Regions from separate parts of the Homo sapiens genome. Here region 1 is linked to region 2. Evidence: promoter capture Hi-C in human tissues and cell types (Jung and others, 2019). All regions are on one chromosome and are shown on one strand. The core of a region is centred on a gene start or on the middle of the fragment in contact, and the rest is flanking DNA. Distances in the headings are between cores, read along the strand shown.

Region 1 (5,473 bases), core at 453-2,952, 1.7 Mb after region 2:
AAGATCAAAGTTATTAGGCAAGAGCTTAACATAAATTTTATTTATTTTATTTTTAAATTAATTAAAAGATCCTCACAATGTCTCCCACTCTGAAAATGAGGACCTTTAGCTCAACAGAACATAAATTGCAGAAATAGGAAACACAAATTTTCCAAGTAGGTCACCAAAAATGATGGTAAGTGGGACTACTCTTAATTTCAGCTCTTTTGTTCCCAAATATATTTATTCTAATCATTGCAGTCAAAGCTATGTATAATGATTGTTGGTGTGTTGTACATGACGCATCTGGGGTATGTTGTCTCATCCTCACTAATGTCGTCTCTAAGGTGGAGACTCAACTCTACCTGTTCTATTTCTGTACCAGATTGGAAGCTTTTGAGTGGTGTAGCCCATGATACAAGCATGGTTGTGTGTCTACTGTTGCAAGTATTCTAAAATGTGTCCCTTTTCATGAAGTGATATAACATAATGTCCTATGCTGGTGGATCAAACCCTTTGTAAGCCCTGAGATACTAGGTTTGGCTATGACTCTTCAAGAAAATAAAACAAACCTACACCCATCATATGTGTCAATTTCTATCAAGTTCATTTGCTGCCTTTTGTGGGGTAGAATAATCTTCCATTAAGTGGCCATTTTCTACTCAAGAAGTGATGCTACATTGGGCAGTTAACATTGTTTTCTATCATTGCCAGGTTAATATTTAGTAGAAAGAGAAGTTTTATCAGCCTTGTTGAGTGGGAAACTATGCTTTGTGTTTATGCAGTTTTCATCCTGCCACTATAGCTACTTCAATTAGGAGCCAATTATGCCACCACTGAGGTTGCTTATATCAGAATCTAGCTGATATAAATTGTCAGGTCCACTCAGTGTTCTTTATAGCTTAGGTTCTTTTCCATTATGTATAGACTATGATGAACATTGATCTTTTATATAAAGATCTTCAAACTTTGTTCTAACTTCTAGAACCATCCACATGCCACTTCATCCCTCTGCCTCTTTGTCACTAGTATTCCAGTCTTTCTCCTTCCAACAGCCTGGTCAATTAGCCAAGTTACCCACCATTAACAATAAGTTGAATTTTTGTGTATTCTTACATAGAACCACCTCTTTTTTATACAAAGAGGATGAGTGAGTCCATCAGCTGATTTGTCCGTGGGATGTATTTCTCCTAAGTACTATCTTTCAAAGTCACTCCTTAATGGATCAGTAACACATCTACAGTTCATTTTTGGCATACCAACTTTACTCATTTATGAACTAACTTGGCTTTCATCCCCCACCAGCTGGTCATAAGGGATCATCCACGTAGCTACAAGTGTAAGCTTAGGGAAAGTGCACCACATTGCAATAGTAGTGCACTAACATCAGTGGACTTCGCATCACCTCTTTGTGCTTTTTTTTTTTTTTTTTTTTTTTTTTTGAGACGGAGTCTCACTCTGTCGCCCAGTCTGGAGTGCAGTGGCGTGATCTCCGCTCACTGCAAGCTCTGCCCCCCGGGGTTCATGCCATTCTCCTGCCTCAGCCTCCTGAGTAGCTGAGACTACAGGTGCCTGCCACCACACCTGGCTAATTTTTTTGTATTTTTAGTAGAGACGGGGTTTCACAGTGTTTGCCGGGATGGTCTCAATCTCCTGACCTTGTGATCCGCCTGCCTCGGCCTCCCAAAGTGCTGGGATTACAGGTGTGAGCCACCATGCCCGGCCCCCTCTTTGTGCTCTTTCAGTTGTGCTTGATGGTCTTACTTGTGTCTTAGCATGGGCATACGTCTTTCTGTTATGTGAGTAGAATTAGCACTCAAAGTGTGGCATATGCTGCCTCCGGGGTTTCAGGAGGTCACTACATGTGGTACTTTCTTCTTGGTGGTAAAAGATAAAAAATGCTTTAGTTTGTCTATTAACTGAGAGAGGCTGTCGCAATTTTTCCTATACCGCAGGATCCCTAAAAACTTCTCTAATGTTTAAGATTCCTACTTTTTTGTATGGGTGTTTATCTCTATCCTTTCCCACCTAAAGAGCACTGTGTTTTGACAAGAATGCCAATATACTTGCATTTCATGCTCGTCTACCTGATTAATATATTGTCATTGATATAGTGGGTCAATAAAATATTATGCAAAATATCCAAAGAAAATAAGTATTTTCAAATTATAGATTTATTATAGAAGATGGAAGAGAATATATTTGCCACATAAATACTACATACTTGATAATCGAATCCAGGTTAATCTTAATCTTCCCTGGTAAAAACACTGCACCTGACATAAAACTTTAAACTGATGTTTCTACTTGGTTGAGATTGGAGTCCACAGTAGTCCTCCATGACCCTTTTCGTTACACACACAAAAGTAGCCAGTAAGAGAATCCAGTTTACAGAGAATGCTCTATTTATAAATAAATCTTGTGAGTTACCTTTCCTCTGGGTACTATTACAGTTCACTTCAGATGAAAATTTTAACAATAACTTGCTACAGCATGTCAGGGACCATCAACATTTCATCTGCAACCAGTGATGTGGTTCCTATTGTGATGCAGACAGTGATGAATCCAACTCTAGAATTTCTTATTGGCAATCTGTTTTCTAGAATCTTTTCTCACTTACAAGTAAGAACACAGTATCTGGTTTTCTGTTGCTGTGTTAATTTGCTCAGGATAATGGCTTCCAGATGCATCCATGTTGCTCCAGAGGACACGATTTTGTTCTTTTTTTGTGGCTGTGTAGTATTCCCTGGTGTACATGTATCACATTTTCTTTATCCAACCTTCTGTTGGCACCTGGGTTGGTTTCATGTCTTTGCTATTGTTTGACACACTTTTTAGTTGTGTTGTTTGTTTTCTTATTGAGTTTCAAGAATTCTTGTGTCTTTTGCAAATATTTTCTTCCAATTAGCAACTTATAATAAAATGTTAAGTCCCAAGATAATAAGGTGGGTATCAAATGCATCTGCTAGAATAGCCCAATGACATTTAATAAGTCTATTTGCTTCAGATAACTTAACATGGAGAATATGTAATCTCATTTATCTTATGGGAGTTGATCGTCTTCTCCAGACATGGGAACTAGCAATGAGTGGGCTTATCCCTGCTCATTGTTTTAAATTTCTATTCATTTCTTATTCACAGATATATGTATTTTGTATTTGAGCCATGTTGTGTCTTTTATATTATTATTCCATTAAATTGTATTAATTAAAATTATTTTATTATTAATGTAAGGCTTTCCATTATTTTAACCAAAGTTTTTCTTTTTAACTTAGAAATATGCTTTAAGAAATACTTAAAACAGTTATATATATATCCTTATTTTATACATTTTTACTTAAATTGTCTTCACATTTTTATATTGTTTCATAGCCTTAAATAATTATTATTTAATTTAAACCATGATGGAACTGACATATAAAATAGAAATATGTGAATAAAACGCAGGATACTCCTCGGACGGTTCTAGTGAATGCAATATAATGTGGAAGGCATGTAGTTTTGAGACACTGCTTTAAAAATCTAACAGAGTACGACAGGCTATGTCTATTTCAATGTTAATATTTTGCCAAAAATGGATCATACAAATAAGTGGAATGACTGGTAAACCATTTTATAGTTTGTAAAGTGCTTTTCTAAATATTTGATACTTATAGATTACTATCTCCATTTTGTGGATGATTAAGCTAAGATGAAGAACGTTTAAGTGGTTTGACTTAGAATTGGACATAAAGTGTTTTGATTATAGATAACATGTTATTTTAACTATATTTTCCAACCTCTACAAATCCCATGTGTCAAGCTTCTTCAACTTCAAATGTTTACCTTTCAGATGAGTAGTCTCCCTGTAGTTTGTCTCACAATTTGCCTCTAGTTTCTGTTAAGGTACAATGAATACAAAGTAATGTACCAGCCCCAGGCCTAACCCTTTCTGTGTAAGCTTGATTACTCTCAAGGGTCTAGTCACCTGAGGAAAAGAGAAGTAGGTACCTCTAGATAAAGTGGAAGTGAAAGTGGAGAATTCTTGTTTTTATCCTTCAGGAACTTACTGAGCATCTGGTTCTGGTAAGGTTAAGGAGCTATAAATCCTTTTGGAAACCTAAATCTAAGGTTTGTTAAACTGCTTATATCTGAATACATGTCTATGGGGAGGAAGAGTAAGTGGTTTCAGTGTGTGTGCATACATGAAGAGTGAATATATTATGCCCTGACGGTTAAACAAGAAGGTTAAATATCGGGGTGTTTTTCTAATGCCCTAATATCAGTAGAGATTTATTTACTTAATAATATGACAAATAAAAGCAAGCCTTATTGTCAATTAAAAAATATAAATTACTCTTGTCCAATCTAGGACTTGATGTCTGGAAGGAAAATGGCTAAGGAAGTTTTATTGAAGTAGTTATTCATCTCTGCTATTTACTGATTATCTTCATTGTGTTAGAGACTATCAGACAGCCTAACATAACTCTGAGGTAGATACCATTGTTTACCACATTTCACAGAAGAGCAAACAACTGCTTAAGCAGCTTTCCCAGATTCACACAGGGTAAATTGCCATGCTGAGATTTAAACCAAGGTGTTTGTGCGTTAGCTTGAGAACTGATTTTTGCCTTAAAGAATAGCAATTCTAAGTGGTATGGGAAATATTTTACCTGAGGACTGCCTTCCTTGAAACATTCTCTTCTTTTGGCATCTACTATATTCCACCTCTCTGTATATTCTACCTCCATATATTCCACCTCTCTGAATATTCCTTTGCAAGATCCTCTCAACAATCTTACTGCTCCTCAGGGTTCTATGAGTTTTAAATTTTGTATTATGTACATTTTTACTGTATGATTTCATTTACTCTTTGGTTTCAGATACCACCTATCATGTCAGTACTTCTGAATAAACAGCCTTGATGAGCTATCTCTTCTGAAGTTCATCCACATCCAAATGCATGCTCTGTGTAAGAATGACTTTACCGCTTAAAATATGAGTGAAAAGAATGGACATCAATATCCCTTAGTTGTTGCCAGAGAAAAAAAGGGAGAAAGTGCTAAGAAATGATTCTACATATTTTATATTTCTTCCATTCACATTTATTCTTTACATATTTGCTGAGAGCCTTTTATATTCCACGTGTCATGTTGATGACAGATACATGGGGATAAATAAAACCTTTTTATACCTTTTAACATGGAGTAGTCAATGTGCATGGTAGTAATGGAGTTTGGTAGGGTAGGGTTACATGAAAGTAGTACGTTATAAAACACTGCAGAATCTTCCACAATAAAAAATGCACTAGAGATGCATTCCCTGAAAGACCTGAGTCAATATCCCTCAGCAAAAGACGAAAATAAAAAGGAATAAGAGTTAAGTGCATTCAGAGGTGAGAACTTATTTTATGACTACTGACATGGGATCAGAATTGAATTTGCTAAGAAAACACAGTCCAGCAAATAACAGGAGAATGCTTTTAATGACATCTCACAATCTGCTACCGTCTCCA
Region 2 (5,511 bases), core at 2,674-5,173:
CAGCGTTGCCAGGCTGGTCTGCACGAAGCCCGGGAAGTCCAGCCGGCCTTGCAGCAAGTCGGGGACGATGGCCACCATGTGGCAGCCAAGGAAGATGAGATCCGCGCAGGCCACGTCCAGGAGGTAGATGGCGAAGGGGTTTCTGTAGACATTGGAGCTGAGCAGCCAGAGGACTGCCCCATTCCCCAGCAGCCCACCGAGGCCGAGCCCCTCGGTGAGGGACAGGATGATGAGGTTGAAGGCCACATCCTCCTGGGCGCCGTTGGCGGCCCCCACGTGCTGTCCAGCTTCTCTGGGCTCCATCATGGGGCGGGGGGCCAGGGGATGCTGCAGGAGTGTGTTCTGCTCGCTCTCTCTCCTGATGCCCCTGTAAACCACAACAGTTGAGTCTGGGGCTCAGGAATCCATGCCCCCTGCTCCTCCCCACATCAGGGGAGATGAGAGTTGGGTGGGTGACCAAGGGAATGGTGAGACCCTCCAGGAGAAGACCCCTCTCTCATTTCCACCCTCAGCCACCTGACCTAAGCTTCTCTTCCCTAAGACACTCAGGAGGAAGGTGTCCCCATTCCTCCCCTCCCCATGGTTACCTGGCCTCAAGAGCCTTCCGTGGGGCTGGTCCCTGTAGGCCAGGTGGGGGCAGGGACCAGGAGATGTGGGGAGAGGGTCTGAGACCCATGGGGCTCCCTGTTGCTAGTGGTGCCTTGATCCTCAGAATGGGCTTTTTTTTTTTTTTTTTTTTTTTTTTTTTGGAGATGGAGTCTGGCTCTGTTGCCCCAGGCTAGAGTGCAATGGCACCATCTCGGCTCACTGCAACCTCTGCCTCCCGGGTTCAAGTGATTCTCCTGTCTCAGCCTCCCGAAGAGCTGGGATTACAGGCGTGCATCACCATGCCCAGCTAATTTATTGCATTTTTAGTAGAGACAGGGTTTCACCATATTGGCCAGGCTGGTCTCGAACTCCTGACCTCGTGATCCGCCTGCCTTGGACTCCCAAAGAATAAAATATGACTTATTTTAAAGTCATAGGCAGAGCAGGAGGCACCGCCCATGTCTAATGAGTGGTGTGACCACAGAGGGACAGCTTACAGTGGCTGTGGGGCTTTTCGTCATCATCTTAAAGCAGCCCTCAACTCTTTGAGGCCTTTCCTTGACATCCATGAGGGGTTGTTTGCCAGTGGGCTCCCAGTCCCCAGCCCTCCAGCTTGGTCACACCATGCAGCCACATCAGGGCCACAGGAAAACTCCCTTTCCCCTGGCCATGTCCCTGCTGTCCTACAGCAGGACTCCAGCCCTCTGCAGGGTAGGGGGCACATGAGGAGGCTGCATCCTGCTCAACGTTGCCCGCCCTTTCCCCATGGGGAGAAGAGGGAGCTGTCTGATGATGGGGCTGGGAGGGGCCCTGAGCTTCCATGGCGTCTCCAGCCTCCCTCCATCCCCTCCCAAGGCAGTCGGCTCACGGGGACAGGTCCTGCGGGAGGGGTACTGAGTCCTGGGAGGCAGCACAAATCCCAGGGGACCTAGGCTGGAATCGGAGTCTTCATCACAGCTTTGCCAGAAATACAGCAAGTAATAGACTCTAGGAGACTGCCAGGTGCTCAGAGCCGGAGACATGCCTGCAGATACCCGGCCCCATGCTGCCCCTGTGGTTACCTGGCCCGTCATGTGTCTCTGAGTGCTTGGTGACCCCAGCTTCTCCTCTTGGGGTTGGGGGAGAGGGGATGGGGCCTTGCCTCTCCCCAGAGACTGGCTGGGGTCAGGGGCCGACACCAGGTGCCCCTCCCACCTTGGTGGTGGCTGGTCCTCCTGTGTCCTGGGAGGGCTGGGGTTTGGGGTGAGGAGGGTGGGGGTACAAGCAGAAACCCCCATAGCTGGTCTTAGCGGCTTCTTCCCACCTCAAGGTTGTGCTCAGAACCCCTGCTGTCTCCCTCCAGTGATAGGAGCACCCGAGACCATGCAGGGGGACGCTGCGGTGCTGGGATGCTGGGGAGAGGTGGCCCGGGGCGGGGCTATCGCTGAGCACAGAGGTGCCAGCCACCCCGTGAGGTGCTGGTCATCTCCCTCGGCTTACACCCTCAGCTCTGTGGTCTTTTGTTTGACTGGGGTGAAATGACAGCCTGAGGTTGTCCCCGCCTCAGGGGTGGGCATGGGGGTGGGGGGCTCAGTGGAGAGGAGGCCCCAGTCCCAGCACCTCAGGAAGCTGAGTCCTGCCCGTGGTCCAGTCTGAATCTCCTGCGGGTGGAGTCAAGCCTGGTTGGAGATATAGGGCTCTTCCTCCTGTCCCTGTGCTCCATCCTAGCACCCAAGGCCCCGGGAAGGCAGACCATGGGTGGGAGGTGAGGTGGTGGTGGAGGGAGCCCCACCTGGGCCAGCATCATCAGGAGGACACCCTGAGTGGGGCAGACGGGGCATCACTGCCATGGCAGGTGGGGAGATGTGGGGAGGGGGACAGATGCTCTCCTACTCAGGATAGCTTGGGGGGGTCACCAACCCTCAGGCCCAGAGGGAGGCAGAGATGAGTTTTGGGAGGTCTTAAGTCTGTTGATGGTGGACCCCCTCCCAGGCACAAGTCCCGTCCACCCATGGACGGAGCTATCTCCGGGATCTACCAGCAAGCTCCAGCCCCAAAGCAACAGGTGGGGTTTCTCCAGCCTGTGGCCCACCAAGGGCCATGGTCCCTCTCCTATCTCACCTCCTGCATGGCTGAGGAGGACACGGGCCTCATGGGTGGGCCCCAGGGAGAGAGCATGGCAGGGAAGCGATGGACATAGAGGGAGAGGGGAGAGTGCAGGAAGGGGAGAGGCATGAAGAGATGGGGGACAGAGAAGGAAACAGGGAGGAGAACAGGGGGACAAGGGGTTAGAGCCACGGAGCTCAGCCAGACCCTGCTGCTGCCCCCTCTCTGCTGTGACCCTGGAGGAGGTCTCCCTGTGGGACCATGTGCCCCACTGGGGGCTCGGGAGGGAGGCAGAGCTCTGTAGGAAGGGTCGCCACAGTTGGGTTACAGGACTGTGGGGAGTAGAGGAGTTTGTTGCATCCTTGGTGAGCAGGAGGAAGAGGAGAGGGAGGAGAAGGAGGGGAGGAGGCGGGGGAGGACGATGGAAGAGAACAGGAGGGAGGAGGAGGAGGGGGAGGAGAAGGAGGGGAGGAGGCGGGGAAGGACGATGGAACAGAAGAGGAGGGAGGCACAGCATTCCCCATCCCTGGGTGGTCCAGGAGTGGCTCTGTGTCCCGCCCAGACAGCCAATACTGAGAAGCCCTGAGGCTGAGCACCCAGGTGTGGCAGGGAGGAGAGGGCCTATCCCCGGCTGCCCCCATGACTCCCCTTGAGAGTCTGCACCTGCAGGGAACACTCTAGATCATGGAGGAAGCAAGGCAGACAGGAGACAGAGCCACCGGGGGTGGGGGGTTGGGGAGCCATCACCCAAGCTATCGTCCTCTTCCAGACTCAGCCCAGGGCTGGCTGCGGACCAGGTGGTGCGGCCCGTCAGAGGGCGGAGGCTGCAGCCTGGAGAGCTCCCTGTTGATAGCATCTGCTGTTGCCCACGCCCCACCCCTGCCACCATCTGGCCAGCAAAAGAGCCCAGAAAATGCCGAGCGCCTGGGCCGGCCCCAGAGACCCACCCTGATCCAGCCACCTGCGCTACTCACCGTTTGGGGCAGAGGACTGGCCGAGCCCTGCCTGCTCTGACCCTGGGCCTTGGATCTATCCTGGCCGCGGCCGAGGGCTCCAGTCCCCAGAGCCTCTGGGCGGCTCCTGTTCAGTGTCCACCAGCTCCTCCGAGTCACATGGCATCCAGCTGGAATGGGGCCGGTCAGGAAGGTGTCTCTCTGAGGACCCCTTCTCTTCCGCTCAGCTCTCGCCCAGGTGTGGACAGCAAGAGAAACCCTGAACCTCCCTGCAGCCTTCCAGGCAGGCCTGGCAGGCAGAGGAAACCACGAGATCTCTGGGTGGAGCCCAGCCAAGCTGTGACTTCACTGGCACTCCTGGCTCAGAGACACCAAGCCCTGTAGGGCCCTTTAGGGACCACTTCTTTCCATCTGTGCCTCGGAGGGGCCGGCTGAGAGCCGGGCTACCGGCGGAACTTGTCCTTGCAGCAAAAATGTGTTTTTCTCTCCGCAGAGCACAGGCTGCCGGCCCCAGCTCTCCAGGCAGTGTGGGACCGCGGGGAGGAGCGGGGATGTGCGTGAGGCCGTCCCTCCTGCCTCGTTCGCAGGCACAGAGTAGATGGCCGGTGTCAAGAAGCTGCCGCGCGGTCCCCGGCCGAGGAGAATCAAACACATACAGCAGCGTCAGGCTCCGGGAGACCTCGTGAACTCAGTGATTTCAAGTCCCGTTTCAGACCGTGCCTTTCCTTCCAGTGCCCTGCCTTAAGGGAGATCGCAATTGACGTGCCAAGAGAAGGAAAACAAGGTCATTTTTTGGCCTCTGTTCCTCCCCGAGTCCAGGCCCTAGCAACTCTTTTCTCATCTTTGTCTTTAGAAAAATCTCCGAGGTAGAGAAGAGTGCAGAAACAGCACGGATTTGCTCCGGAGCGTTTCCCACTCTGCGCAGTCCGCCTGACCTCTCCTCTTGCGGACCAAGTGAGAGCAAGTTTCCCGCACGTGGCCTTTGACCTGTCACTACATCAGCAGGCATCCCCCAGGGCACCGGCATCCTCCATCCCCAAAACGGAGGGGCCGCACACAGGTCGTCTGGCGTCTGTGCAATGCTGGTGTCTGATGAATGTGTCGCGCTGGTGTCTGACGTCCATGCGGGGCTGGTATCTGACAGGCAGCAGTGCCGCTTGCTGAGTTGTGTCTCAGCTTCAAATCCTCCCTTCCTAAACCAGGATCCGAGCTGCCAGGTGCCCGAGGCTCTGTAAACCATGCCTGGGCTCTGCCACCGCTCTGGGAGGCCCTACCAGTGGGTGGTCACTCAAGGATGGCCCAGGGGTGTGGGGGAAGTGCTCCCAATCGCCCCACACGTTCCAAATATCTCACCCTTCTAAGTGCCACACTCCCTCCAGTTGTCCCACAGTTCCAATAGTGCCACTCCTTTCAATTGTCCATCCCACCCTTTCATAAGTTCCATGCCTTCCACTTGTCTTACACCTTAAAGCTGTCCCACCCTTCCAAATGCCCGACCCTTCCAATTGTCCCACTCCTTCCAACTGTCCCACTCTTCCATTTGTCCCACTCTTCCATTTGTCCCACTCCTTCCAATTGTCCCACTCTTCCAATTGTCCCACTCCTTCCAATTGTCCCACTCTTCCATTTGTCCCACTCCTTCCAATTGTCCCACTCTTCCATTTGTCCCACTCCTTCCAATTGTCCCACTCTTCCAATTGTCCCACTCCTTCCAATTGTCCCACTCTTCCATTTGTCCCACTCCTTCCAATTGTCCCACTCTTCCATTTGTCCCACTCCTTCCAGTTGTCCCACCCTCCAATTATCCCACCTTCCAATTGCATTAGCCTTCCAACTGTCCCACCCTTCCAATTTTCCCACTCTTTCCAATTGTCCCAGCCTTCCA

Evidence for each region. Contacts are between HindIII fragments. The study calls those that stand out against the background at their distance.
Region 1: a contact is called between a fragment that was not itself captured here and the fragment with the promoter of MRGPRE in region 2, in 1 of the 25 tissues and cell types used here (sigmoid colon).

Annotation. Positions count from the first base shown.
Region 1 is chr11:4,899,756-4,905,228 of GRCh38, forward strand. The region is part of intron 2 of MMP26 (matrix metallopeptidase 26); the gene reads left to right. It overlaps OR51A7 (olfactory receptor family 51 subfamily A member 7), which reads left to right and starts at 4,028. Exons shown (of 2, transcript NM_001004749.2): 1 at 4,028-4,089. The HindIII fragment of the contact is 6,232 bases long and covers 1-4,818 here.
Region 2 is chr11:3,228,494-3,234,004 of GRCh38, forward strand. MRGPRE (MAS related GPR family member E) reads right to left here and starts at 3,924. Exons shown (of 2, transcript NM_001039165.4): 1 at 3,648-3,924; 2 at 1-367. The coding sequence starts at 306. The HindIII fragment of the contact is 8,659 bases long and covers 1-5,511 here.